5 separate regions of the Homo sapiens genome follow, and regions 1, 2, 3 and 4 are each linked to region 5. The links are contacts of gene promoters, found by promoter capture Hi-C in blood cells and fetal thymus (Javierre and others, 2016). All regions are on one chromosome and are shown on one strand. Each heading gives the region's core, a stretch centred on a gene start or on the middle of the fragment in contact. The rest is flanking DNA. Distances are from core to core; before and after follow the strand shown. Region 1 overlaps ME1 (malic enzyme 1). Region 2 has its middle 3.9 kb from the start of PRSS35. Region 3 has its middle 17 kb from the start of PRSS35. Region 4 holds the start of ME1 (malic enzyme 1). Region 5 holds the start of IBTK (inhibitor of Bruton tyrosine kinase).

Evidence for each region. Contacts are between HindIII fragments. The CHiCAGO score rates a contact against its expected background, and 5 or more counts as called.
Region 1: a contact is called between a fragment that was not itself captured here and the fragment with the promoter of IBTK in region 5, in 2 of 17 cell types (M0 macrophages and M2 macrophages). The highest score is 7.4, in M0 macrophages.
Region 2: a fragment that was not itself captured here is called in contact with the fragment with the promoter of IBTK in region 5 in 7 of 17 cell types (M1 macrophages, M0 macrophages, M2 macrophages and 4 more); the score reaches 13.9 in M1 macrophages.
Region 3: a fragment that was not itself captured here is called in contact with the fragment with the promoter of IBTK in region 5 in 1 of 17 cell types (M0 macrophages); the score reaches 5.6 in M0 macrophages.
Region 4: a contact is called between a fragment that was not itself captured here and the fragment with the promoter of IBTK in region 5, in 4 of 17 cell types (M2 macrophages, M1 macrophages, M0 macrophages and 1 more). The highest score is 13.6, in M2 macrophages.

The regions. Positions count from the first base shown.
Region 1 is chr6:83,415,764-83,421,021 of GRCh38, reverse strand. All of the region lies in intron 1 of ME1 (malic enzyme 1), which reads left to right. Among named protein-coding and RNA genes, the nearest start is that of ME1, 13 kb to the left of the region's middle. The HindIII fragment of the contact is 3,304 bases long and covers 2,035-5,258 here.
Region 2 is chr6:83,505,944-83,511,282 of GRCh38, reverse strand. No RefSeq gene overlaps it. Among named protein-coding and RNA genes, the nearest start is that of PRSS35, 3.9 kb to the left of the region's middle. The HindIII fragment of the contact is 4,773 bases long and covers 1-4,229 here.
Region 3 is chr6:83,526,477-83,531,680 of GRCh38, reverse strand. No RefSeq gene overlaps it. Among named protein-coding and RNA genes, the nearest start is that of PRSS35, 17 kb to the right of the region's middle. The HindIII fragment of the contact is 2,367 bases long and covers 1,314-3,680 here.
Region 4 is chr6:83,430,528-83,435,515 of GRCh38, reverse strand. ME1 (malic enzyme 1) reads left to right here and starts at 4,465. Exons shown (of 14, transcript NM_002395.6): 1 at 4,465-4,639. The coding sequence starts at 4,562. RefSeq lists enhancers at 3,050-4,249, 4,192-4,361, 4,982-4,988 and a silencer at 4,572-4,761. The HindIII fragment of the contact is 3,198 bases long and covers 1-3,087 here.
Region 5 is chr6:82,243,963-82,248,993 of GRCh38, reverse strand. It overlaps IBTK (inhibitor of Bruton tyrosine kinase), which reads left to right and starts at 1,250. Exons shown (of 29, transcript NM_015525.4): 1 at 1,250-1,432. RefSeq lists a silencer at 1,448-1,617. The HindIII fragment of the contact is 2,262 bases long and covers 94-2,355 here.

The sequences.
Region 1 (5,258 bases), core at 2,437-4,936, 1.2 Mb before region 5:
CTGTCTGCATACAGGGAAGCTTCTTTCTTTCTTTCCCCTTCTTTTGTGCCTATTAAACTGTCCACTACTTAAAACCAAAAAAACAAAAAACTAAAAACAAAAAAACAAAAAACAAAAACAAAAACAACAACAACAAAAAAACCCAACAACAACAACAAAAATTTCTCTGTGGATGTGGGAAGGAGTGTTATACTGTTTTGCATCATAGATTTATCTTTCAACATAGTTGCTCTTAGGGCCTGGAATGTAGTAGGTATTCTGTAATAATTTGTTGAATGAATGAATCAGGGATTATTCTTGAAGTAACACTGTTTTACCTTGCAGATATTGCTATAACCTCTCAGGAGTTCACATCCTACCTTGTGGGATAAATGCACAATAACCTCTTTTATATGCTGTTGAATGTGTGTTGGAGAATCTCTTTTCCTTAATGGGTATAAGGATGACCACTATATCATTTAGGATTAGGTTTTGCTACATATAACAAAAAAGCAAAATAAAAGTGAGTTAACTAAGATACAGCTTAATTAAGATAAACTGTTCTGTGGGTCCACAAAGTCATCAGGAACGTAGGCTTCTCTTTTGCTGCTCTGTCATCTTCAGGATCACTTCATGGTCCTAACTGAGTATGTAGGTCTAAAGATACCACCTACAGACTGGGCGCAGTGGCTTATGCCTGTAATCCAAGCACTTTGGGAGGCTGAGGCAGGCGGATCACTTCAGGTCAGGAGTTCGAGGCCAGCCTGGCCAACATGGTGAAATTCCATCTCTACTAAAAATATAAAAATTAGCTGGGCATGGCGGTGGGCGCCTGTAGTCCCAGCTACTTGGGAGGCTGAGACAGGAGAATCACTTGAACCCAGGAGGTGAAGGTTGCAGTGAACCAAGATCGCACCACTGCACTCCAGCCTCGGTGACAGTGCAAGGCTCCGTCTCAAAAGAAAAAAAAAAGATACCACCTACACATTCCAAGATGGCTGCTGGAAGAAATGAGAGAATTACAAGAAGGCCTGCTTTTCAGTGAAGTCCCCTCTTTTAAAGTAGCCTTCCCCACATTTCACATGATACTTCCACTTAGGACTCATTGTTCAGTACTCTGTCATATGGTCACATATAACTACAGGGGAGTCAGGAAATGTCTTTTATTTAATGCATTGCCACCCCAAATAATATTAGGATTCTGTTCCTGGAAAGGAAGAGGGAAATAGATGTTGTCGTAGGCAATTAGCAGTCTCTACCATAGCCAGAGCTGCCAGAAGCAAAAGGAATGAGATTTAATAAATGAAAATATTAAATATGAATGTAATATTCTTGAAAATTGAGGTGAATGGTTCTTAATATTTTAAAAATAGTCTTATAGATTCGCTTTATAAAAATAAGATATAATAATGTGAAAAGTATGTCTGCCACTTCTGTGTCTGGGCTAGCTGGTTCCCCTCCCTAAAGGCAACCACTGTTGCCAGTGACCAGTGTTTTCATTATATACTAGAGATATTGTATGAAGTATTTTTTAAAGTTAATTTTCATAAGTTAAAATGTTATTGATACAGGACATGAATCAGATATGCCCTTAGTGTGGTAGATAGGAGATAATGTTATAAAGAAAAATGTTTCAGGTGGGAGTATGTATGTGAATTTTATAGAGACACCGAAAACAGATTAAGAATCATGATATCAGGTTGAGCCATCTATGATTTGCCTGGTAGTCTGAAACTAGTTCTGAAGCATTGTTCTACCCACCACCTTTTGTTTTTTTAAAATCTGAGCTAGCCTTAGTATGTGGATTCCTTAATACGGTGAGTGATAAACATGCGGGTTGGCTATTGCTAAACTCACAACATTTTTATGAAATGGAATAACTAGTCAGGAAAGGTACTGGGGCTTCCCATACTTAGGATAATGTTTGAAACTTCTTACCTGGTTAACTAGGACTTGCCCACTCAGGTTCGTACCTTTCTTTCTAGTGCTCATCTTTTATCATTTCTCACAGTTGGTGCAGTTTCCTTCCCTACGCTTTCCCTGAGAAGCCAAGCTTTTCTGCATTAGGGGTTATATACATGCTGTTTCTTCTCTACCTACCCCCAACTTTTCACCTGGTCAACTGCTACTCTTTCTAGTCATCCTTCAGATTGCATTTTGACATTACTCCTCAGTGAACTATTTCTCTAACTGTCTAAATTAAGTTCTTCCTTTTCTTTTCCCTGTACTTATCACAATTGTTATAGTTATTTGTGTAGCTTTTCATATAATATCCTGTTAAGCTCTTTATATTGTAAGCCTAATGAGACTATGGATCATACCTGACAAGCCACTGTTTCGTTGGGGTAGTTCCTGTATGCATTGTAAGCATTCACTCAATGATATCTGTGAGTGTGATGATTAATTTTATCTGTCAACTTGCTTAAGCCACAGGGTGCACAGACATTTGTTCAAACATTACTCTTGTAACTCTTGTAGTGTCAGTGAGAGTGTTTCTGGATAAGATGAACATTTGAACTGAGTAAAGCAGATTGCCCTCCCTAATGTGGGTGGGCCTCATCCAATCAGTTAAAGGACGAAAAAGCTGAGTAAGAGGGAACTTCTCCTGCCTGACTGTCCTGAAGCTGGGACATCAAATTTTTCCTGCCCTTGGACTCAAACTAAAATGTGGGCTCTTCCTGGGTCTTGAACCTCCTGGCTTTCAGACTGGATCTACACCATTACCATTGGCTCTCTTGGGTCTCTAGCTTGCTGGCAGCAGGTCTTTGGACTTGTCAGCCTCCATAATCATGTGAGCCAATTATACTATTTCTCTCATAATAAATCTCTTCATATATATAAAGGTTCAGTTTCTTAGGAAAACTGACCAATACAGCGAGCTTCACAACCGCCCATAAAGTAACTGTAAAAGCAGAGAGAAAACATTTCTGCAAATCTCCACAGTGGATCTGAAGCAAGAAAGCCATCTTGTGGTGTTTCTGGGAATATCATGTCTGAGGTATATATCCCTTAAGAAACTGAAACAGTCCTCTGCAACAGTTTTCAACATATTTTGTGCCAAAGGCACAAAAGTTGGAAAGTTGATGAAGTCTGTGGTCTCCTTAAATCAATGATTTTAAATAAACAGTATACATAATATTACAAAGGAAACCACTTGTAATTAAATATAGGTATCAAAATATTAACAAATATATTTACAAGTGTGTATTGTAAGATATATTCCTCTTTATTGAAGACTCATATAGCAAGATAATATATTTAAATATGGGCAATTTAAAGTAAAGTTTTATTTTTTAAAGAGATCAATATCAAGGTTGTCTGCATGACTGGCCTGTGTGCCTGTTCATGTTATTAAAAAAAGTTGGGCCTGGCGTTGTAGCTCATGCCTGTAATCCCAGTACTTTGGGAGGCCAAGGCGGGTGGATCACAAGGTCAAGAGATCGAGACCATCCTGGCCAACATGGTGAAACCCCGTCTCTACTAAAAATACAAAAATTAGCTGTGCATGGTGGCACGCGCCTGTAGTCCCACCTGCTTAGGAGGCTGAGGCAGGAGAATGGCTTGAACCTGGGTGGCGGAGGTTGCAATGATCCGAGATCACGCCACTTCACTCTAGCCTGGGCGACAAAGTGAGACTCCGTCTCAAAACAACAACAACAACAACAACAACAAAAAACAACAAAAAAAACATGTTAGTTAGGCACAGTGGCTCCTGTAATCCCAGCACTTTGGGAGGCCAAGGGAGGAAGACTGCTTGAGGACAAAGGACAGGAATTTGAGATCAATCAGGGCAACATAGTGAGACCCTGTCTCAAAAAAAAATTTTTTTTCCAGATGTGGTGGTGTATGCGTATAGTTCCAGCTACTCAAGAAGCTAAGGCAAGAGGATTGCTTGAGCCCAGGAATTCGAGGCTGCAGTGAGCTATGATTATACTACCGCACTCTATCCTGGGCAACAGACTGTCTCTAAACAAAGCAAAACAAAGCAAAACAAAACCTTATTGCAGATCTAAAGCTACAGTAATTTCAAAGTAATGAAGAACATGAATGTTATTTCCAGATACATGCCACAGATGTAACATGGCATAAAAATAATTGTTATTTCTATTATGACAAAGACACAGAAACTACTTTTTTTTTTTTTTTTTTAGACAAATCTCACTCTGTCACCCAGCCTGGAGTGCAGTGGCATGATCTTGACTCACTGCAGCTTTGACTTCCCGGGCCAAAGACATCCTACCACCTCTGCCTCCCAAGTAGCTGGGACTACAGGTGCATGCCACCACACCCAGCTAATTTTTTTCTACTTTTTTTTTGTAGAGATGGGGATCTCACTATGTTGCCCAGGCTGGTCTCGCACTCCTGAGCTCAAGCGATCCTCCTGCCTTGGCCTCCCAAACTGCTGGGATTAGAGGCGTGAGTCACTGTGCCTGGCCAGGAACTACTATTATGTCTCTTGTTTATTTCATTTAAAATGGAAGGAAATACTAAATCTCATAGAGTTTGTGAAAAAGATGTCCAAGTTCAGGCCTCCTTAATTACTCATCCATACCTTGAGGATCTGTGATTAGGTCTGTGAATTTTAAGTTAAAAGCCTCTGATAGGGGGCTAAATTGGTTCTTCACCAGAAGCACTGACCTTGGTCTCTGAAAACTGATTCTTAAACTCAGAGGCTTTCAGACAATACTGAAATGTGAAGAATAAAAGTCAATATTCATGTAGCATGTGCATATTAGTGACTTTATTTTAAAACTTTGTACCATAAGCATTTATATAACACTTTATAATTTACGTAGGATGCAAAAACACCTGGTCTCATTTTTTTCTTCCCAACAACCCAGTGAAACACACATAACATGTACTATGTGTTCAGTAAATAGTTGATTAGTCTTATTTAGCAGATGCAATAATTGAGGCAAATCTCCATTTAACCCTTAACACCTTAAATATTTGCTCAAAATCAAGTGTTAAATAATATCTACTTGTGACTCAAACTTGACAAATGGTATACCCTTTAGTCTTATGTTGCTATTCAGTCATATTTGTTGGTGAAGTGTGCATCTAAATTTCTAGTGTATGGCTTATTACAATCTATTAAATACCAAAAATGTACTGAATAGCTGCCTACAACAAATAATTGTCTGTCCTAAAATGTCACTAGTACCAAGATTGAGAAACCTGGTCAAGATGAAAGTACTTTAAAAAATCCCCATAAACTCTGGCACTTATGCTGATATGTAGATATATATTTTGGTCAAACCAAAGTTGATCTTGAATGC
Region 2 (5,339 bases), core at 594-3,093, 1.3 Mb before region 5:
ACATAAGCATTTACCCATATATTAAAATCTATTGGTAATTTTTACCAGTTAGAATTAGTTCTGAAGCTCTCTGTCACCAATTAGATCATAATAGTCATATGCATCTTTGAATCACCACCATCTACCACAGGGCCTGGCATATAGTAGCTGCTGCATTAGACGTGGAACTAAAAAGTTTGCTAGTCAGATGGAGTGTGGAGAAGTCACAGAGAAAGTCCAGAACTCAGAATGGGAATTCCGCCTGACACTAAATAGCTGTGTGCCCTGGGCCTCCGCTTTTTCATCTGTAAATTGAGATGGTTGAGCTGGAGGAGTTCCAAGGCCTGCAGCTCTCAAACATTTTTGGGATTCTAACACTGTATAAATCCAGAAGGATTCACTGTGGACCCAGGTCTGCTTCCTTCACTTTATTCAGCATTCTCCACTAGCATCACAGAAAGCAAACTTCCAGGGCTCTTTCATTTTCATGCCCCCCTTCTTGAGCCTTTGACCCCAAGCCCTTTTGTACCCTATTTCTGGATCTATTCCAGGTTGTCTTATCATTAATTTGACTGTTTTCAAAATTTATCGCTTTACTTCATCTGGTCCTGATGCTTCGTATTTACTATTTCTCTAGTTCTAGGTTTCTGGCTTCTTATTTTTAAAAAATTTTAATTCATTAAATTTTTAGAGACAGGGTTTTTAAATTATCACTCTGTCACCCAGGCTGGAGTGCAGTGGCAGGATCATAGCTGACTGCAGCTTCAAATTCTGGGCTCAAGCAATCCTCCCACCTCCACCTCCCAGGTACACAGGCACATGCCATCTCACCCAGCTTTTTAAATAATTTCTTTTGTGGAAGCAGGGTCTTGCTATGGTGCCTAGGCTGGTCTTGATGTCCTGGCCTCAAGTGATCCTCCTGCCTCAGCCTCTCAAAGTGCTGTGATTACAGAAGTGAGCCGCCGTGACTGGCCAGAATTCTGGCTTCTCTTAAGCAGGATTTCCTCTCCTGGCCTAGTCCAGCCCCTCAGGTATTCTATAGCAAAGTATGAGCAGTTCAGAAACCATACCAAACTAGATTGTCAACCCATCAAATTCCTCATTCTGGACTTGTAATGATGGTCCTATAATTTTCCAATGCTTCTCAACCAGCTTTCCACATGGGAATGCAAACTTTGGATAATATAACTCTTACCATTTTAGGAAATAATGCATTATAGGAAATGTTATCAGTTAAAAAAAATAAACTCATAACAAAGTTTCCAGCCATGTCTCCCCAAGGTCCTAGACTTTATCTTCAATTATTGTGACTATTGTGACCAAAGACTTTATCAAATTACTTTTAATACAACCCAAATTCTTGGTTAATGCACCAACAAAACTGATAACTATCTGTCCTTTGTGAGGTCCCCAGCTTAATGGAGGCATTTGTATGCTTCTCCAGAAATGGAACCAAGAGGCCCAGAACACATCTTCTGTCACATTTCAGGTCACGAGGGGTGCAGTGGCCTCTCTAGAAGAGAAGCCATGACCACTGTCAGGCCTGGCTATGATTAAGGCTATACTACTTAGCTTTTTTTTCTGGACTTGCTTTCCCAAGAGGCTGAGACCAGAATAGAATAAATCTCTATCCAAGACTAAATCTTACTTATCATGGAAATGTACTTGGAAAGTTTTAGCTGTGGAAAGACAGGAAGAGGAGATGTTTCATGGTCCATGGTGAAGGTCTAACTGATGACTCAACCTTGTAAAGGGACCTGAATTGCTTTGGCTGTAATCTTCCTGTTAACTTTTAATCCCAAGGTTTTATCAAAACCCTCTTTATTATTTATTAGGTTGTATGGTTGTGCCTGTTTAAAAACCTAGGGGTCCCTTAGTTAAGGCAGACTGAGAAAATTAAGCAGATGTAATAAGAAAAAAAGATAAGGTAGCATTTGTCCTCAAAGTAGATATACTGTGATAGAAGCCACCTATGATCTGCTAATTTGAGGAACAGTTGCTGGTGCTCCACAAACCTGCAAAACCATTGGCTTTCTCTATCTTTCTGGGTGGCCCAAGGAAATGCAATGATGTGTTCCCCCAAAAATCTGAAAGTTGGGTCCCTCAGTGCAGCCCCTCCTCCATTGGGTCATGTTCTTTCTGATAGGCAGTGTTGATCTCTCTACTGCCTTTGCGCCAGCACTGGTCCTGGGTACTTGCCACACTGTTTCGGAATTATTTTTTTCCATGTCTGCCTCCCAAATAGGACAGCCTCAAGGACAGCAAAACTTTTATATATCCAGCACTAAGTACAGTACCTGCAACTTAGATGTTTAACAAATGTTAACTGAGAAAATCAAATGGACCAGAATCAAGACATTCTACCACTCTCATCTGTAGTTTAGACACAATAGAGTGAATTATGAGAGGAAACCAGAGTTCTTACAGAAACCAGAGACTTAACCTAGAAGCATCATAAATAAGTATAAATTAAAAATCTGAAGAGGACACGAACTCCGGGAAATGCAGCCAGGACTAAAGCACTGGGCCCCAACCACAAAGTCTCCCAGAGACAGGATTTCATGAGACATTGCCAGAGGAGAGAGACTCTTGTAAAGTTTAATTCATAGGCCTGTAAATTAAGGCTAATGGATCAGAGTCATTCATATTCCAAGTTTGAAAATTTATGATAGCTTTTTGTTTTATTTTTTATTATTACATGTTTTCTTGGCTCTGGAAATGATGATTAAATTACTAGATGACATGAATAAGCCTTCAATAAAGAGCTTTATCAAAGTCAAAATATCCTGGGCAAACTACCTATTTAATCACATACCCAGTCAAGAAGAATGAAGGCTATTCCTCCTCCTTCTACATGGCCTCTGAATATGGAACTGAACCCACTATGGATAAGAACAGTGTACTCAATGGAAATATATCTGGGATTAGGAAACTAAGGTTTAAACCTGAACACTGCCGCTTATTAGCCATGTGATTTGGGCCAAGCCACTTAACCTCTGGGAGTCCCTATTCCCTCATTTGAAAAGTTAGCATGATAAAAGTTGTCTGGAAGAGTGGTTATGAAGGGCAAATGTAAGAATGTATGTGGACACCCTTAGCTGTGACCGGGCACATAAGTGCTCAATAAGGAGAGCCAGGAATTGGCCCCAGGAGCAGAGTCTAGTACGTGACATATGACTGGTTTTTGTGCTTCCACGTGACTCCGAGGAAAGGCAAGAGACCACAGTACCTCTAATGTCAGCTTCTCTCTGTTATACTCTCCCTTCCCTTTTTTTTTTTCTTTTTTGACATGGAATCTTGCTCTATCACCCAGGCTGGAGTGCAGTGGTGTAGTCTTGGCTCACTGCAACCTCTGCCTCCCAGGCTCAAGCGATTCTCCCGCCCTGCCTCAGCCTCCCGAGTAGCTGGGACTACAGGTGTATGCCACCATGCCCAGCTTATTTTTGTATTTTTAGTAGAGATGGGGTTTCACCATATTGGCTAGGCTGGTCTCGAACTCCTGACCTCAAGTGATCTGCCTGCCTCGGCCTCCCAAAGTGCTGGGATTACAGGTGTGAGCCACTGCGCCCAGCTCCTTCTCTTTCTTATAATGCCCCAAGACTCTCACTAGATCCAGAGACGAAGTATCCATTAAATCAAATACACTTCATCACATTTAGGTAACCTCCTAGAGGATGAATAAACAGGACAGGATCATCAATGAAGAGATGATAGATGTGGAGAACAATGAGAGATGGGAATAACTCACAGGCTGAGTCACATTTTATCCTGAAGGACAAACATTTCAGATTGCAGATGTTTTGGTGTGGCCAGAAAATTTGAAGATTTTCATTAAAAATTTGATTTCTAGGTTTCTGTGTGTGTGAGAGAGAGAAATTAGACCATCGGGCAAGTCTGGTCCACATTCCCTCATGGCAGTAGTCAGCTGAAGCTAAGTAGGAGCTAACAGTTTAGATGGAACAGGCCCGCTTGAGGTCGGCAGGTGTCACCACTCGTTGTTGCCTCCATATGCTGTCAGTATTGGTTTCCATTTGCCATCTCCAATGCATGATTGTTTCTTTTACTCCTAGCCAACTGCACAAACTACATGTGTGGGGGCTACCAGAAAATATAAGGATCATTTGCATATCAAAAAGGGAATCCTGGAAGCAGAAGGAATTGTTGGGAGAGAGAGAGAAATTTTTTAAACTTAGAGTGGAAAGAACAGCTAAGACACTGTTACAGTAGTTCAAGCTAGATATTATGAAGCTTCAAACCAGGCAGTAGCCATGGAGGTGGAGATGGGGAGAGAGCAGATTCCAAAGATGTCACAGGATTCAAATTGAGTGAGCTGGTGACTGAACATAAGGAGTGAGGGAAAGGGAGGATTTCAGGGCTCAAAATAAATCAAGGCTATGTACAGGGATACTTATTGCAATCATTTTTGTGTAATAGCAGAAAAGAAGAAATAAAGTGAATGCTCATAAAAGGAAAATAGTTGAATACACTATGGTATATCCGTACTCTGGGATATTATGTTGCTATTATCAAGAATAAATCAGGACCAAACCAGCTGCATTGTAGGCATTTCCTTAGTGTAGTTAAGTGAAATGCACTGAGGAACATATATAAGATGGCCCCATTCATAGAAAAGCAACAACCAAAGAACTTACATATGTATCTATATGTAGATATGTATACATAAATGCATATGTGTGATTATGATTATATGAATAAAGGAGAAGGTATGGAAAATATACTGTATTTTAGAATGTGGGGGTAAGCGGAGGAGGAAAGAACTAAGGAGAAAGCAAAAAATCTGTATTAAAAAAAGTCATCTTGAGCTTTCAAAGAATGTATATGACCGTTTTATCAAATTGCATTATGTGTATATAACCATAAAAAACACGCATGAGATTGTCATACGGAGCTTGAGGGACTCCAACTTATTTTATTTTCTTATTATAGATTGTTTATAAAATTGGCATAAAACTCCTACAATATGTGAACCTAAAGAGGCTTTTAAAAATTAAGTTTAGGGTCAGGCGCAGTGGCTCACACCTGTAATCCCAGCACTTTGGGAGGCTGAGGTGGAAGGATCACTTGAGCCTAGGAGTTCGAGGCAACAGCTTGAGCAACAAAATGAACCCTTGTCTCTACAAATAATAAAACATTAGCTGAGCATGGTGGCATGTGGCTGTAGTCCCAGCTACTCAGGAGACTGAGGGAGGAAGATTGCTAGAGCTGGGGAGTTTGAGGCTGCAGAGAGCTAGGATCATACCACTGCAATCCAGCCCAGAGCAAGATGCTGTCTCAAAAAGAAAAAATTAAGCTTATTAATTTTTTAAAAACCACAATAAATTTATTTTAACATAGACAAA
Region 3 (5,204 bases), core at 1,248-3,747, 1.3 Mb before region 5:
CTTTTTTCATTATACCAGACTTACTGTGCCTATCTCACAGCACTGTATGTATGCATAAATTGGGTGCAGCTATTCGACAACTTTCAAACTTTCAATAACACACATTAGTCTTCAAAATACTCAGATATTTTTACCCTGAAGAATGACCAAAATATTGCGGTAACATTTTTTCCTCAATTTTTGAGGCTAGAATTTCATTTGAGCCTAAAAACAAGTCAATTCCATTGACCACTGATGTTTCTCTTATTTTAAACAAGACTTTAATAAAATGTCAAGCCATTTTCATGAAAACTTTTCTATCATGTAATGCCTTTCAAAACTCATACTGATCATGATTTTATATTGATTGCTCAGTCATCATTATAAACATAACATATATTGCTATGATTTCACAGGCTAATACGGCTCACAAAGCTACTTGCCCAAACTCAGTAGCTCCAAACTACTAAAATTTTATAGTACCTATATACCTGGGTTTTTTTATAGTTTAATGTTTTTTCTACATCCTCCTTCTCTGTCAGCTATCACTTCTTGAGACTGTTGGACTTGCCTCAGTAGCAGCCTTCTCATTATAGTTCCAGAAATCAGATAACCCAACTTGTTAAGATTATTTCTAGAGTAAAAGTAATTTTGTGGCATCTATGTCGGTTATTCAGAAGACACTGTTTAACTTAATTTTTTTGTTACATTTTAGATACTTGAAGTCATCAGAAAAGGAAGTTCTAGATAAGTGAGATATTGTGTGGTATATTACAAATTACTAATGAAATTAAATGCAAAATATAATATAGAAAAGTAAGGAAAATGAGTGTTAATTAGGCTGAGCAAAAGCCCAGAGGATCTTTCCAAACTCATCTGTGTTCGGTTGTGTGAACAGTGTTCAAAGTATTCCTCTTATCTATACTGCGTGTGAAAGTGTACACACACTTAAGTATAATATGAGCATGCACAGAGGATTTCAATAACATAAACACAAGTTCATATTAGTTGAATATTAGTAAACATTTACAAATACAAAGTGAAATATGATCATGCAGTCTCAGTTTGGTAAACTGTAAACCCAGTTGGTAAAATCACACAGGGAGGCAATAATGGATCCTATGATTGATTGCAATGTGGATCAAAGTAGATATTCTAAGTAAGTGGGCAACTTGTCCTCTGTGCTTGAGAAAAGTGAATGGATGTTAAGGTGTTACTGGAAATTTTTAAATACTACTAAGGCAAAAAGATTTTGGTGACAGGTTTTGAGGCAGAGGTTGTCTGATTAAATATTTACATGGCAGAGGAGAGGATAAGGTGTAGCTACAGAAGCTTGGCACTTGTCTGTTTGAAGGCAGTTTCTATCGTAAACATACATGAGTCAACAGAGAATGTGTCAAATATCTAATTCCTTAAGTCGCACGCTATAGTGTATTCCAATACTAAAATTCTCATTACAAGAAAATATTCCCATTATTTAAATATTTCGCTATATTTTTAATATGATACACAATTAAGACAATACCTATAGCATTTTGGAGCTTCAGCATATAGCATAGAGTAAGTAATGCCCTGAAAGAGTAAGCCTCAATGAATACTTGGTGATAAGTTTAAGCATGTATCCATCGTTGCCTCTGTGCCAGGTACGAGTACTTGAAATAATGATGATGAAAGTTAGGAAAAAGAGATTGGCTGTCCTGAGCTGCCGTTCATACCCCTTTGCCTAGTTTCTCTAGTGACACATGCTTGTGAATTCCCTGGGTCTGGCCCAAGGTGCAACTTGTAGGTTTAGAAGTTTAGTGCAACTTGTAGGTTTACATACGTGTTATGAACTGTGTGTCTGTGTCCCACACCCACCCCTAAAAATGTCACATGCTGAATCTCTAACCCCCAGTTGTGATGGTATTTGGAAATGGGGCCTTTGGGAGGTAATTGAGGTTAAATGAGGTAATAAGGATGGGGCCCTCATGATGGGATTAGTGTCTTTATAAGATGAAAAAACAGAGAGAGTCTGCTCTCCCTTTCTCTGTCATCCTGCTTGTGCACAAAGAAGAGGTCACAGGAGCATACAATGAGACGGCAGCCAATTCAAGACAAGAGAAGAGGTCTCAAAATGAAACCTACCTTGACTTTGGACTTCCTAGCCTCCAGCGTTGTGAGAATTAAATGTCTTTTGTTTCAGCCACCCAGTGTGTGGGGTTTTGTTATGGCAACACCACCACCTTACCTGTGGGTAAGCAAACTAGCCCATATTGGGATCAGAAGTCATTTTGCCCACCATGTTCTAGACAGTTAGCTAACTGGATCAAAACATCAGCTTTTAAATACAGAGAGGAAGAAGCAAGGAATTTCCCTCCCTAGATTTTATAAGTAGAAAAGAAAACCATCTGAGGATGGTTTTTCCGCTTAGTTGAATAGTGAATCAATAAAAACATGTGGGCGGGCACAGTGATTCTCACCTGTCATCCCAGCACTTTGGGAGACCGAAGCAGAAGGATCACTTGAGCCCAGGAGTTAGAGACCAACTTGGGCAACAAAGTAAGACCACATCTCTACAAAAAAAAACTTTAAAAATTAGCCTGGCATGATGGCACATGTCTGTAGTCCCAGCTACTTGGGAGGCTGAGGCAGGAGGATCTTTTGAGCCCAGGAGGAAGGCTTCAGGGAGCCACGATCACTCCACTGTGCTCTAGCCTGGGCAACAGAGCAAGATTTTATTGAAATTTTATTTTAATAAAAATTAAAACTTGTGAATCTGCCTATAGGTCGATGCTATTTGACGAGGACATGATTTCATCACTGATTAGACCAAATCTCCTAAATATCTCTGAACCTAATGATTTGGCCATTGAAGAAAGAGCAATGACCTAGTTGCAAAAATCAGTTTATTAAAAAGGCTCTTCTGTTAATTAAGTAAAGATGTTTTTGCTGATCATTTTTAGTAAAAGTAGTTTTATTGAAGTACTTTTAAAGCCTGGCAGGTACTTTTAAAAATCAGTAGCCAAAAAAGTATCTGTTATTGGGAAACCACCCTAAAGAATAATGATGCTAATTCTAGGTTATTTATAGCTATAGAGCCACATTCTTGTACTATCCAGTGCTTGGTCAAATTGCCTTATCCCAATATTCTTAATTAATAATCACAGTTTATGTTTGATGCGAATAAATACCTGAGTTACTAACACAAGGACAAAAACTTATGAGTAATTAAAATGGTCAACATTGGAATAAAATGCAAGACATACATAATATAATTTTTACACTATGTAGCAAACTGAATAACTTATGGTAAGTTATATTTCTGAATTTATTTTAATAACTAAACAATAAGGGGTGAAAATTTTTCTTATCACTGGACAACCATTTGCAGAGAATGTGATGGAAGGGGATTAAAACTTAAAGTATAGGGTTAAACTGATGATCTTTTATAGTCTCTTCTTATCCTGAGATTCTTTCTATGAAATAAGAATTTAAAAGAATTATTCTATCTACAAGTAAGAAGGGGTAAGAATGTGTCCAGAACTCTGATCTTGGTTATTGCTATTGTCTGAATGTTCACACCCCTCCAAAGTTTGTATGTTGAAACCTAACCCCAAAGGTGACAGTATTAAGAGGCAGAGCATGTGGGAGGTGATTAGGTTGTGAGGGCTCCTGCCTCATAACTGGGATTAATTCTCTTATAAAAGGGGCTTGCATAAGCTTGGGTGCCCATCCACTACATGAGGACACAACAAGAAGGTGCCATCTATGAGGAATGGACCTTCATCAGACACTAAATCTACTGATGCCTCCTTCTTGGACTATCCAGCCTTCAGAACTGTGAACAATAAATTTCTATCATTTAAGAGTTCCCAGTCTAAGATATTTTGTTATAGCAGCCTAAATGGACTAAGACAATCAAACATTATCTAAATCTTTTTCAAAATAAACAATGGATTAATTAAGAAGCATATCAAAAAGGAAAAAATTGTTAAGTTGCTTCTACCCACATGCATTTCGTTTGAACAAGAAAAAAATAAAATAAAATATGTTATTTAGATAAAGAGGGAATGCCACAATTTTAAATTTCAGTTGTTTTGAAAATGGTTATTTGAAATCCACCATTGGTAAGATTCCAGACAATAAGTCAGTACAGTCCTTTGCACACAGTAAACATGTATGCATGTAAGTATGTTTGTTTAGCTAAGTGAGTTCAATCTAGTTCTCAATTTCAAATCTGATAAACATAAGAGAAAAAGTATATGAAGCAAAACTTTCTGGTTAATGCAATACATTTTAGCGTTCCTAAATAGGTCATGTAAGATTCAGGATTCACTTGGAAAAGAAAAGTGCATGACAGAATTAAAACAAAACAAAACAAAACAAAACAAAAAACCTCTAGCCAGGCATGCTAATGCATGCATGCCTGTTATCCCAGCTACTTGTAAGGTTGAGGTGGGAGGATCTATTGAGCTCAGGAGTTCAAGGCTACAGTGAGCTGTAATTGTGCCACTGCACTCCAACCTGGGTGACAGAGCAAGACTGTTTCTAAAAAGAAAAAGAGAAAAAGTCTCTGCAAATTAAACAAGCTCAATTTTATATTTTTGAAAAGTATATTGGACAATGATTTTAAGAATTATATATATAATGAATATATACTCAGAATTTAACCTTAAGTACCAAACTATTTTATTCAGCACCCAAAGGTATTCTAAACTTACTCAAATGCTAGGAGTTATATTCAAAGACTCAAAGACGAAGATTCTGTGTAAGTGTCTGTGTGTTTGCAAGTGTGTAAGTATGCAAAATTGACCTTGGAACATTTTTGTTTCTGTGATCACATAGATGTTTTCCCCCCAAAAAATTGAGCAAAATGTTTGAGTCAATAGCCCTATACCACTGGAAACAATAATAAAATACTACTTAGTGAAATGTGCTTGGAATTAAATCAAATCATTAAAAAAAATAAAATGATAGTTAATACTTGCTAAAATCCTGTATACAAAACACATATGGCTGGGCATGGTGGCTCAAATTTGTAATCTCAACACTTTAATGCCAAAGCGGGAGGATCATTTGAGGCCAGGAGTTTGAGACCAGCCTGGTCAATGTAGCAAGACCCTATCTCTACTTCAATTAAATAAAAAATACAAAAGCATATATACAGATACAGTAAGAGTTATAGCTAATTTATGTTTTAATTTTTATGGAATTATTTTTAAGAGGTTTACATTATAAAAGAATCT
Region 4 (4,988 bases), core at 239-2,738, 1.2 Mb before region 5:
AAGATGAACCAGATCTGGAAGGAAAGGAATAACATTTGTTGAATGCTTACTATGGGACAGGCACTGTTCTAAGTGCTTTACATGTCTATCTGTATTATATGATATGACATAGTATAGCTTGTTTATTATCTCAGTAGGATGTAATTTCTAGATGACAGAGAATTTGTATTATTCACTATAAATCTTCCAGGGCGTATATCAGGGGCTGACACATAGTAGGTTAATCTGTAAATATTTATTGAATAAATACACAAAAATCACCTCTTTTAATCCCCATAACAACTTTAAAAGGCAGGTACTTTTAATATCCTCATTTTTCTGATGAGGAAGCTGAGGCCCCGAGGTAATAAGATTTTCAAAGACACAGGGCTGGAAAGATTCAAACCCAGTCAGTCTGATTCTAGACTTCATTCTTGTTATGGATTGAACTGTGTCCCCTGAAAAGATATTTTGAAGTTCTAATCCCTGGTACCTGTGGACGTAAAACTAATATAATCTTTTTTTTTTTTTTTTGAGACAGAGCCTTGCTCTGTTGCTTAGGCTGGAGTACAGTGGCACAATCGTGGCTCACTGTAGGCTTGACCTCCTGGGCTCAAGCAATTCTTCTGCTTCAGCCTCCTGAATAGCTGGGACTATAGGTGCATGCCACCGCACCGGGATAATTTTTTTTTTTTTCAAGTTTTTTGTAGAGACAGGGTCTCACTTTGTTGCCCAGGCTGGTCTTGAACTCCTGGCTTCAAGTGATCCTCCTGCCTTGACCTCCCCGAATGCTGAGATTACAGGTGTGAGCCACAATGCCTGGCCTGAAACTAATAAAATGCTCTTAAAAGAATGTGGTATAGTGTTTACCCAGAGTAAATAAGAAATAATTCCAAAAGAGGAACTGAGAAACATTTCAAATAATGGCAGCTGGCCAGATGCTGTGGCTCACGCCTGTAATCCCAGCACTTTGGGAGGCTGAGGCGGGCAGATCACTTGAGGTCAGAAATTTGAGATCAGCCTTGCCAACATGGTGAAACCCTGTCTCTACTAAAAATACAAAAATTAGCCAGATGTGTGGTGCATTCCTGTAACCCCAGCTACTAGGGAGGCTGAGGCAGGGGAATCACTTGAACCTAGGAGGCGGAGGTCGCAGTGAGCCAAGATTACGCCACTGCACTCCAGCCTGGGCAACAGCGTGAGACTCTGTTGGGGGGAAAATAATGGCAGCAATGTTGAGAGTATGTGCAAAATTTCTCCAGCAGTTTGCTGTCTTGAAGTACAATAGTTATGTGGACATCTGAATTTCAGAAGGTTTATTTAAATGCAGTTTTACTAATTTAGAATTTTATTCCATATGCCATGTTATCAACTGGGATGTGAACTTTTAACAAAATGGTTTGAGGAATGAAACAACTGGGTTGACTATCTGAGAAGAAGGAAAAGAATCAGTGCTTTGTAAAGAAAATCAGTATGTTGCATGCATTTACGGTTATAAATAGCTATATATGTGAAACTAATAAGGTAGTATAACTTGAGTTACTCTGCGATTCATGTAACAACATCTGTATGAACATTACAATAACACAGGTATGTATATTTGATCTTTATTTATTTAAAACATTTAATTAAGGGCCCAAATGCATTGGATTAGACTTGTGCTCTCTAATTCGATGGTCACTGGCATGTTACTAAGCATTTGAAATGTGGCCAGTGCAAATGAGATACTCAGTTTAAATTGTATTTGATTTTAATTTAAATATAAAACAGATACTCAATTTAGTCATTGGAAAACTTTAAGGTATATTTGCAACAAGTTAGGTATGAGAGTCTACTATTGCAAATGTAAGTTTTATAAAATTGAAATACAGATCAAATTTCTGATAAAAATTTGGTGTCTAAATTGAGATGTGTTATAAAATGCACACTAGATTTTGAAGACATAGTAGTAGTGTGCTTTTTGTGTGAAGAAATACAGAATCATTTAGTTAATATTATAAATCCTCACCTAGATATGTATTTTTTCTATTAATCTTTTTTATCTCATGAAAGTAAAATATTAGAATTGCTGTATGTACTAAGAGTTATTTCCTGAATTTTCTATACTTGCAATCTCAACTGACATTACATCAGAGTATCTATTACAATCATATTTTATGTTGTAAAAGCTCTTTGTGTGCTAAACTATAACTTGGGAAAGAAAAATCTGATTTTGACTGATGGCATTCTCACCTGTGTATAACAGAAATCTATGTTTTAGTCTCTTAATTTGTGAATGATACCCATTCTTAACATTACCAATTGCTTTCAGAGTGACAGTGCAACCACAGTTTGTTACAAGGCAAATTAAAGCAGTTTTTTTCTCTGCATCTGTTTTCCTACGTTTTTGGAAATAAAACCTAACCTTATGAGATTATTATTTAAAAAAGACTGAAAATTTTGATATTCTAGCTAACATTTATGTAGAAAAATAGGTTCTTTCTAGTATTCTTGGAACTACATATGAATGTACTAAATGGCTTCTTCAGCTAGGCCTTATCCTGTTTCATTCAAGATGACGGCGGTTATTTTAATAATTAAAATAAACATACAGATGAAAGATGTGAACTTTACCTACTACTGGCAGGATATTGTAATCCCCTTGTAATGTTGCCTTTGAGGGAGAGGCCATATACTCTTTGTGGGTTACTCCCTGTACTTATAACACTTTTCCTATCTGTAGATATTAAATCTCAGAAACAGGAACAGGTAGGTAGTATATCTAAATTCATGTAATAAGTACTTTATTATAATAAGGGTCTGTTGTACTAACATTTTTGTTTCTTCTTAAGCAGCTTGAATTGGCTCCCATGCCAGCTGTTAAACTGTTTCCTCTCACATAAAACACCCTAACTGTAATGTGTCTCAGTTAATTCAGGAGAGTGAGTTGTGTAAAGTACACCTTTTTCTTAGATGTTGTAGGATTGAGTATTTATGGAGTATAGAATTAACAATGAAAGGTGTCATTTAACTTCAAGGATTTTTTTCAAAAAGAACTTTGTGATGCCTAGAAAATATTCTCTATAAAAACAACGAATTCTAGATAATTCAGGCGAGGTCAAAGAAGCTTCTAAATGTAAATACGGACAAAATACAATTACTGTAAGAAATCTTTCTGATAAGGCAAAGTTAACATAACTAGAAATGAAAACACTGTGATTGGATGTGTGTCTAGTATATGGAGATATAAAATCAGCAAATAATCTCAAACACTATCCTTTGTAATATCAGTATGCAGAGACAAATGGGACAGAAACTAGCAATCCTATTTAACTGAAAAGGAAACTGGGGCACAGAAGGCTTTAGTGTCTGTTGCTATTAATTTATTTTTATCAGACAGGCACTCCTTTTGGCTATGATCTGACTATTCCTCCAGTCCATGAACCTCCAAGCATAAATATCAATAAAACAATAAAAAAATGGCCCGGCGCGGTGGCTCACACCTATAATCCCAGCACTTTGGAAGGCGGAGGCGGGCGGATCACCTGAGGTTGGGAGGAAGGCCTGAAAGACTGCTTACTCATCATTATTCAGAGAGAGCAGTGGTTCTTGAACATCAGGTTTCTAGAACTCCCAGAGAAATAATATACAAGATAAACAGGACTGTTCATTGGGCCTTTGCACCCTAACACCTTGACTCTTATCTTATTGACATTCAAATACAATTCCGGTGGAAAATCTGTAGAAACTGACAGGTGTGGCGCCTGAGCTCTCCTCTCTGGGCTTCCTCCCAGTTCCCTTGGGCCTCGGCATTCTGGGTCAAGGTTGGTTCCCTCCGGCCTCAGGGCCCCGGGCATGGCCGGCATCCTGGATGGCACGGCGAAGGTTGTGGATCTGTAGAAAGAGGGCTTCCAAGACGCTAACAAGACAGGAGAGACGAGTCTGATTCTCCTCAGCCTGTCGAGGTGTTCTGTCAACAGTTCTGGGGACCCCTCACGAGTCCTTCCGTCCTGTAATCCCCCTAGGTGTCTGAGCGACCGCCGGCTCTGCCTGAACCGCTCAGGTTCGCACCTTCTGGCATCTTCTCGCACTTTCTCCAGCCTTCCCGGGCAGGGGGATCCTGGCCTGACGCTCCCCGCTCCCTGCCCCCGCCCTGGGTCTCTGGGGTCAGCAGAGCCACCCAGTGCACTGCGTTTAGGCATGCCCACATGGAGAGAGGCGACCACAGCGGTGATCATAAGCCCATGGTGGGCAGAGGCCCTATGGAGCCAAGGGCTCCGGCCGCCACCCCCGCTCCGCCACCAGCAGCGCTGCCAGGACTCGCTCTTCCTCCTCCTCCTCACACGCCGGCTCGGATGATCTCCTGCCATGACTCAGCGCTTCTCGCAGGCTGCCCTGCTGGGGACACCGGCTTCGCTCGGGCCCCTCCCGACGCGTCCACCCCCTCTCGCCACCCACGCCCGCCCCCAGCCGCTGGGCCTTTCCCAGTGCGGCCGCCGCCGCCACAGCTGCAGTCAGCACCGTCACCCCAGCAGCATCCGCCGCCTGCACCGCGCGTGCGGCCCGCCCCGGCCTGACCCCGCCGCCGAACCCGGCGCCAGCCATGGAGCCCGAAGCCCCCCGTCGCCGCCACACCCATCAGCGCGGCTACCTGCTGACACGGAACCCTCACCTCAACAAGGTAAACCCGCAGGCCCACCTGGCCGCCCATCGGCCCCTCTCTATCAGGGTCAGGGCCCTCTTGCAGGTCCCCGCACCATGGCCTCGCCCCTCCGCCGCTCCCCTGGGAAGGTTCCCGGTGAGCGGCCGCGGCCTGGGGGGCCTTGGTGTGGGCAGAAGGAAGAAGGACGCCTAATCGGGTCCGTATCCACTAGAGTGATGGCAGGGCAGTGCTGGTGCCTCTGCACCTCGGCATCCCATGTTAGGGATAGAGGTAAAGGTAAAGGTTAGTGATAGAGGAAAAGGTGATACTTTTCGGCAGCTCTTCTCCAAAAACAAGAGCCCAGACAATGAAAGTAGTATCAGACAAA
Region 5 (5,031 bases), core at 1-2,500:
GTCTCGATCTCCTGACCTCGTGATCCGCCCGCCTCGGCCTCCCACATTGCTGGGATTACAGGCGTGAGCCACCGCGCCCGGCCAACTTAAGCTTATTTTCAAAACCACTCAATTTTGACATTACAAACTGGTTTTTGTTTTGTAGAAGGACATTAAGAATAAAGAGCAAAGAAACAATTATGTGCTGGGAAGGGCAGTAGGAGGGCTGGGTCCTAGTCTCCCTTTCTCTTTCGCTAAGCAGCTGTGTGGCTTTGGGCTAGTAACCTACCCTCCCACAAAAAAGGCTTCAAAAGAGAGCAAGCAGAGCTCAGTGGGCATTAAGACATGCGCAACTCCTTTCTTTTAGAGATTAGATGAGGTCGACTCAGTGGCTTGTAAAACTCAACGTGGCAGAGCTGTACAGCCAACTCATGATTCTTAGTGTCGTTTGTTTTGAGTCACACTACACCTCCTTGAACAATCATTTACTGAGTGCTTACCGTATTAGGCATTCAGCAGCAGTGTGTTTCCCATTCAGTAACCTAGTATTGATTATTGGCTACTGTCCCTCCTAGCATTTTTCACTTGACCACTTTCTAAATGGCCTTTAGATTCAGAGTTCAAGTGGAAAAAGCCTAGTGTAAGCCTGGTGTCAGGCAGTGAGTGGCGTGACCCGGGTCGGCAGCTAGTCCTACGGTGGTGATCTAAGAGGGCAGTGACGCCTTCTGACCAAGGGAGTGACTGCCAGATAATCCGGGTGTATGGAGATCCAGAGAGGGGTGAGGCTGGGTTTACGGAGACTACACCTTTGGCTTTGCAGTAACCCCACTGCTAAGGCCATGGGAGGAAACTCTTCTGTGCAGGACGCCTATGCACTTGGCTTCTGCTGCGTAGCGACCGGGTGTCCAAGGCATCCTGCCAGGTCTCCTTCTCCACTCGGGTTTAGCCTCCCCCGCGAGTCTCCAGCTACCTAGAGAGACGTTTCTAACTACGAGATGGCTGGCCTGAAAGGGACACTCCCATCACCGTTGTTGGCCTAGAGTTCCCCGCTGCGGCCTTTTTCTTTTCCCCGCCCCTGGCCTGAGTCAGCGGCCCCAAGGCCGGCGAGGTCAAGTTCCTTTGGGGCGCCAGGGAAAAGGCCATGGCAGAGGTGCTGCCACGCGAAACCTTCTGGGCAGGCACCAGCCAATCATCAAGAGACATACAGGAGCCCCAGCCAACCAGCGCCCGCCTTATTACTGGGAACCGCCCGCTCGGGCCCTTCCTCTACATCCCCGTTCCCGATTCCTGTAGTAGCGGCTGTATTGCAGCCGCCTGCCGAACTGACCCGGGTCTGGGGACTGGCCCCTCTGGCGCCGTTCGGTTTCTCTTATTGCCTTCACTGAGGATGAGTCCCTTTGTGGCTCTATGTGGACCCTGCGGAATCCACCGGCGCAGTTTCATCTAGCGACTGGTGAGGGAGGGCTTGGCGCTGCCCGACCGTGCGGTGCGGCTTCCCTTCAGCCCGGGGGCAGGGGGAGAGTATTCGCCTTCTGGAGGGTGCGGGTGGCTGCGGACGGCGGCGCGGGGGGACCGTGGGGAGGGGACTCTGTGGCCCCGAGGCTGCCGGGCTTCGCGCGAGGCGGCGCGGAGAGGGCCGAGTGGCCAGGGTCCCTACCGCCCCCCTCAGCTAATGAATGGCCTGTCCCGGCGATGCGCTACGCTCCCGTCCTGCTGGACACGCCCTCCAGCGACATTGCATTCCTAGTTGTGATAGTTATGTAGTGTCACTTTCCTTCGAGTCTTGGATTTGAAGCCATTCCTGTGGGCGCTCATGTTCCTTATCCCCTTCCTGGAGTCACAAGTTTGAGTCCACCCTGGGGATACTGACTCTGGGGAAGCAGGTCGTGAAATCTGATAAGTGGACATTGATTGCTATGTAAAAAGGAACTGATTCTTTTTGGAGGGTGGAGGGTTGAGAGAGACAGAGAAGACAGGCCCTTTGTTTTTGTAACAGGCAGAGCTGTCTGGCTCAAAGAGTTTTAGTTCAGCTGCGAATTAGGTAACATAGGCCGTCCTTGACTCCTGTTTTCCAACGTAGTTCATAAAACTTGACTGTGTTAGCCAGAGATTCATGTAGCACCTTTTAACTTATGCCTCGAAGTAGGCCATTTGAAATTTATCAGAAATACTGAAAGGATATGACTTTTATGAGTAGTAGTGTTTCAGTGCCCATAAAGTGGTGTAAATTCACAGGCTTGCCAGCCCCCTCTTGATCATTTCTCTTTTTGTATTTTGAATTCCTTAACTTTTATTTGTTTTAGAAATTGAGGCAAGGTAGATGAGGACAAAACTGGTTTCTAAAAATAATTACATTTGCAAATATTTGCAGAAGCTTTAGTCAAACCAGAGTTTACTTCAAGAAATTTTTTAGGCCGGGCGCGGTGGCTCACGCCTGTAATCCCAGCTACTGGGGAGGCTGAGAATTGCTTGAACCCGGGAGGTGGAGGTTGCAGTGAGCCGAGATCGCGCCGCTGCACTCCATCCTGGGCGACTGAGTGTGGCACCATCTCAAAAAAAAAAAAAAAAAAAAAGATGCCTGTAATCCCAGCAGTCTGGGAGGCCAAGGTGGGCGGATCACTTGAGGTCAGGAGTTCGAGGCCAACTTGGTGAAACCCCGTCTCTACCAAAAATACAAAAAAATCAGCCAGGCATGGTGATGTGTGCCTGTAATCCCAGCTACTCGGGAGGCTGAGGCAGAATCGCTTGAGTCTCCAGCTGCCCTACCAAACTGCTTTTGAATTCAATTATTTTGAATTGAATTCCATGGTACTTTTTTCTACTACACTATACTACTTGCATTGAAATTTTTCTAACTGCCTTTTGGGAGAGCAGTTTGGTAGCATAGAATAGGTGGGATCAAGAGCACTTTTCTGTCGGTATTATTTTAGGTAGGCTTTTTAAACTTTCACATGAATCTCCTCATCAGAAAATGAAAGTGATCATATTTACAGGGGCAATAATAAGGATTATATTTATGTAGAGCACTGTGTATAATGTATAAAACAAAATTTCACCTATAATTTTTGTGTGTTTTTTCCGTTGTTTAATTTTGTTTTGCTTTACTCACTTCCAAAGTATTGACCCCTTACTCTTCTTTCTAGTTTCCCTATCTGTTCTCCAAGCCAGAAACCTGGGAATTACCACCACATCTTGTCAATTCAAGATCCTAAGTATGTCTTTGGATTGCCTGCCCTTTTTTTTTTAAATCTCTAAGAAAAGGCACATAAGGCTGTTCAAAATCCTGTCTATCCTTGTGTGTATGTTAGGCCTCACTTCTTTCTGTCTTCTGAATTATTTAGAAATTTTGGAATGGACCAAGATGATTCTAGTTCTTTTATATTTACTATCCCTTCTGCTTCAAATGTGCTCTCACCCAGAATTTATCAGGCCAACACATATGGTACTCTTTTTTTTTTTAGAAGGAGTCTCGCTCAGTCGCTCAGGCTGGAGTGCAGTTGCATGATCTTGGCTCTCTGCAGCCTTGACTGACCAGTTTTAAGTGATCCTCCCACCTCAGCCTCCAGAGTAGTTGGGACTACAGGGATGTGCCACTACGCCTAATTTTTGTATTTTTTTTTGTAGCGATGGCTTTCACCATGTTGCCCAGGCTGATTTCAAAGTCCTGGGCTCAAGTGATTTGCCTGCCTCAGCCTAACAAAGTGTTGGGACTACAGGCATGAGCCACTGTGCCTGGCCAGTACTCATCTTTTAAGTCTTAGTTTATACATAGTTTATCTCCTGTAGAAAGTCTTACCTGGACCCCTCTTCTGCACTCCCCGTTCCTATGTGTCACTTGTTTTATCTTGACCATAGGTTTATAATTATGATATGTTTTAGTTACTTGCCTAAATAAAATTACTCTCTTCTACCAAACTGTGACCCTTTGATAATAGGAACTGTGTAATAGATCATAAGTTTTGTTCAGTTAGTACATATGTTAAACTAGCTATGCATCCACCTGAGTATTATCCATGAACCTGTATTTTATTTTATCTAAAATATTTAGGTCCTAATTATTTTTGTATTCCCAATGCCTTGTGACCTACTATGGATGCGCTGAAGAAGACAGTGTAACGTAGCAGAAATAGCACGGACCTCATCATTAAACAGATCTGTATTTGAAGTCTGACTCCCTCTTTTCTTGGTGGTATGATTTAGGTGGTTTACTTGACTGGTCTGATGTAAAGCATTCCGTATGTATTAGGTCTTTAAATGCTTATTTCCTTTGCTTTCTTCCCCTTCTTTAAGCAGTTTTTGAATGCATAGATAAGAAGTACAATAGGCATTGGAAATATGGGCCTGGAGTTTAGGGCAAATATGTGAGCAAGAGACAGATTTGGGGATTTATAATCATGTGTACGGTAGAGTTAAAAGCATGAAAAGGATTGAAACTATCAGGAACAATATGAAGTAGAGGACTGAGGATTATTTCAGAGAAGCCCAGTTTGAAGGACAGGGGAAGCGATAATGCCCTAGGAAGAAGTGGTTAAGAGAGAGAGCCCATGCTTAAATGTTTCTGCGACTTCCTGCCCTTCCTGGATCTCTTTTAGACTCCTTAAGGGAATGAGGTTTTAAAGACATAAAAGCAGGGAAGGCAAGTAAGAATTGAAAATATCTAAAAGTGTTTGGTAATTTGGAAGTCATTAGTAACTTTAGCAATAATGATTTCTTTGGAGAAGTGGTAACAAGTGATAATGAAGCTCAAACATGAATTTTGGAGTTAAAATGTATTACCTTTTTATGACTGAAGAAACAATAGTAATGAAAACTATTATTTGTCGAATGCATATTTAGTGCCAGGTACCATGTTAGGTAGTTTCATTTATCATTATAGTAACCATGTGAAGTCCATGGATTGTTTCTATTTTCAGATGAAGAAACGACTTGGAGAGATTATGTCATTTTTTAGTTATATAACTGATAACAGCTGACATTGCTATATTTGAATCTATGTATGTAAAACTCTAAGAAATCCTAGCTCTTAATCGCTTCCATGTTTATGTTCATAGT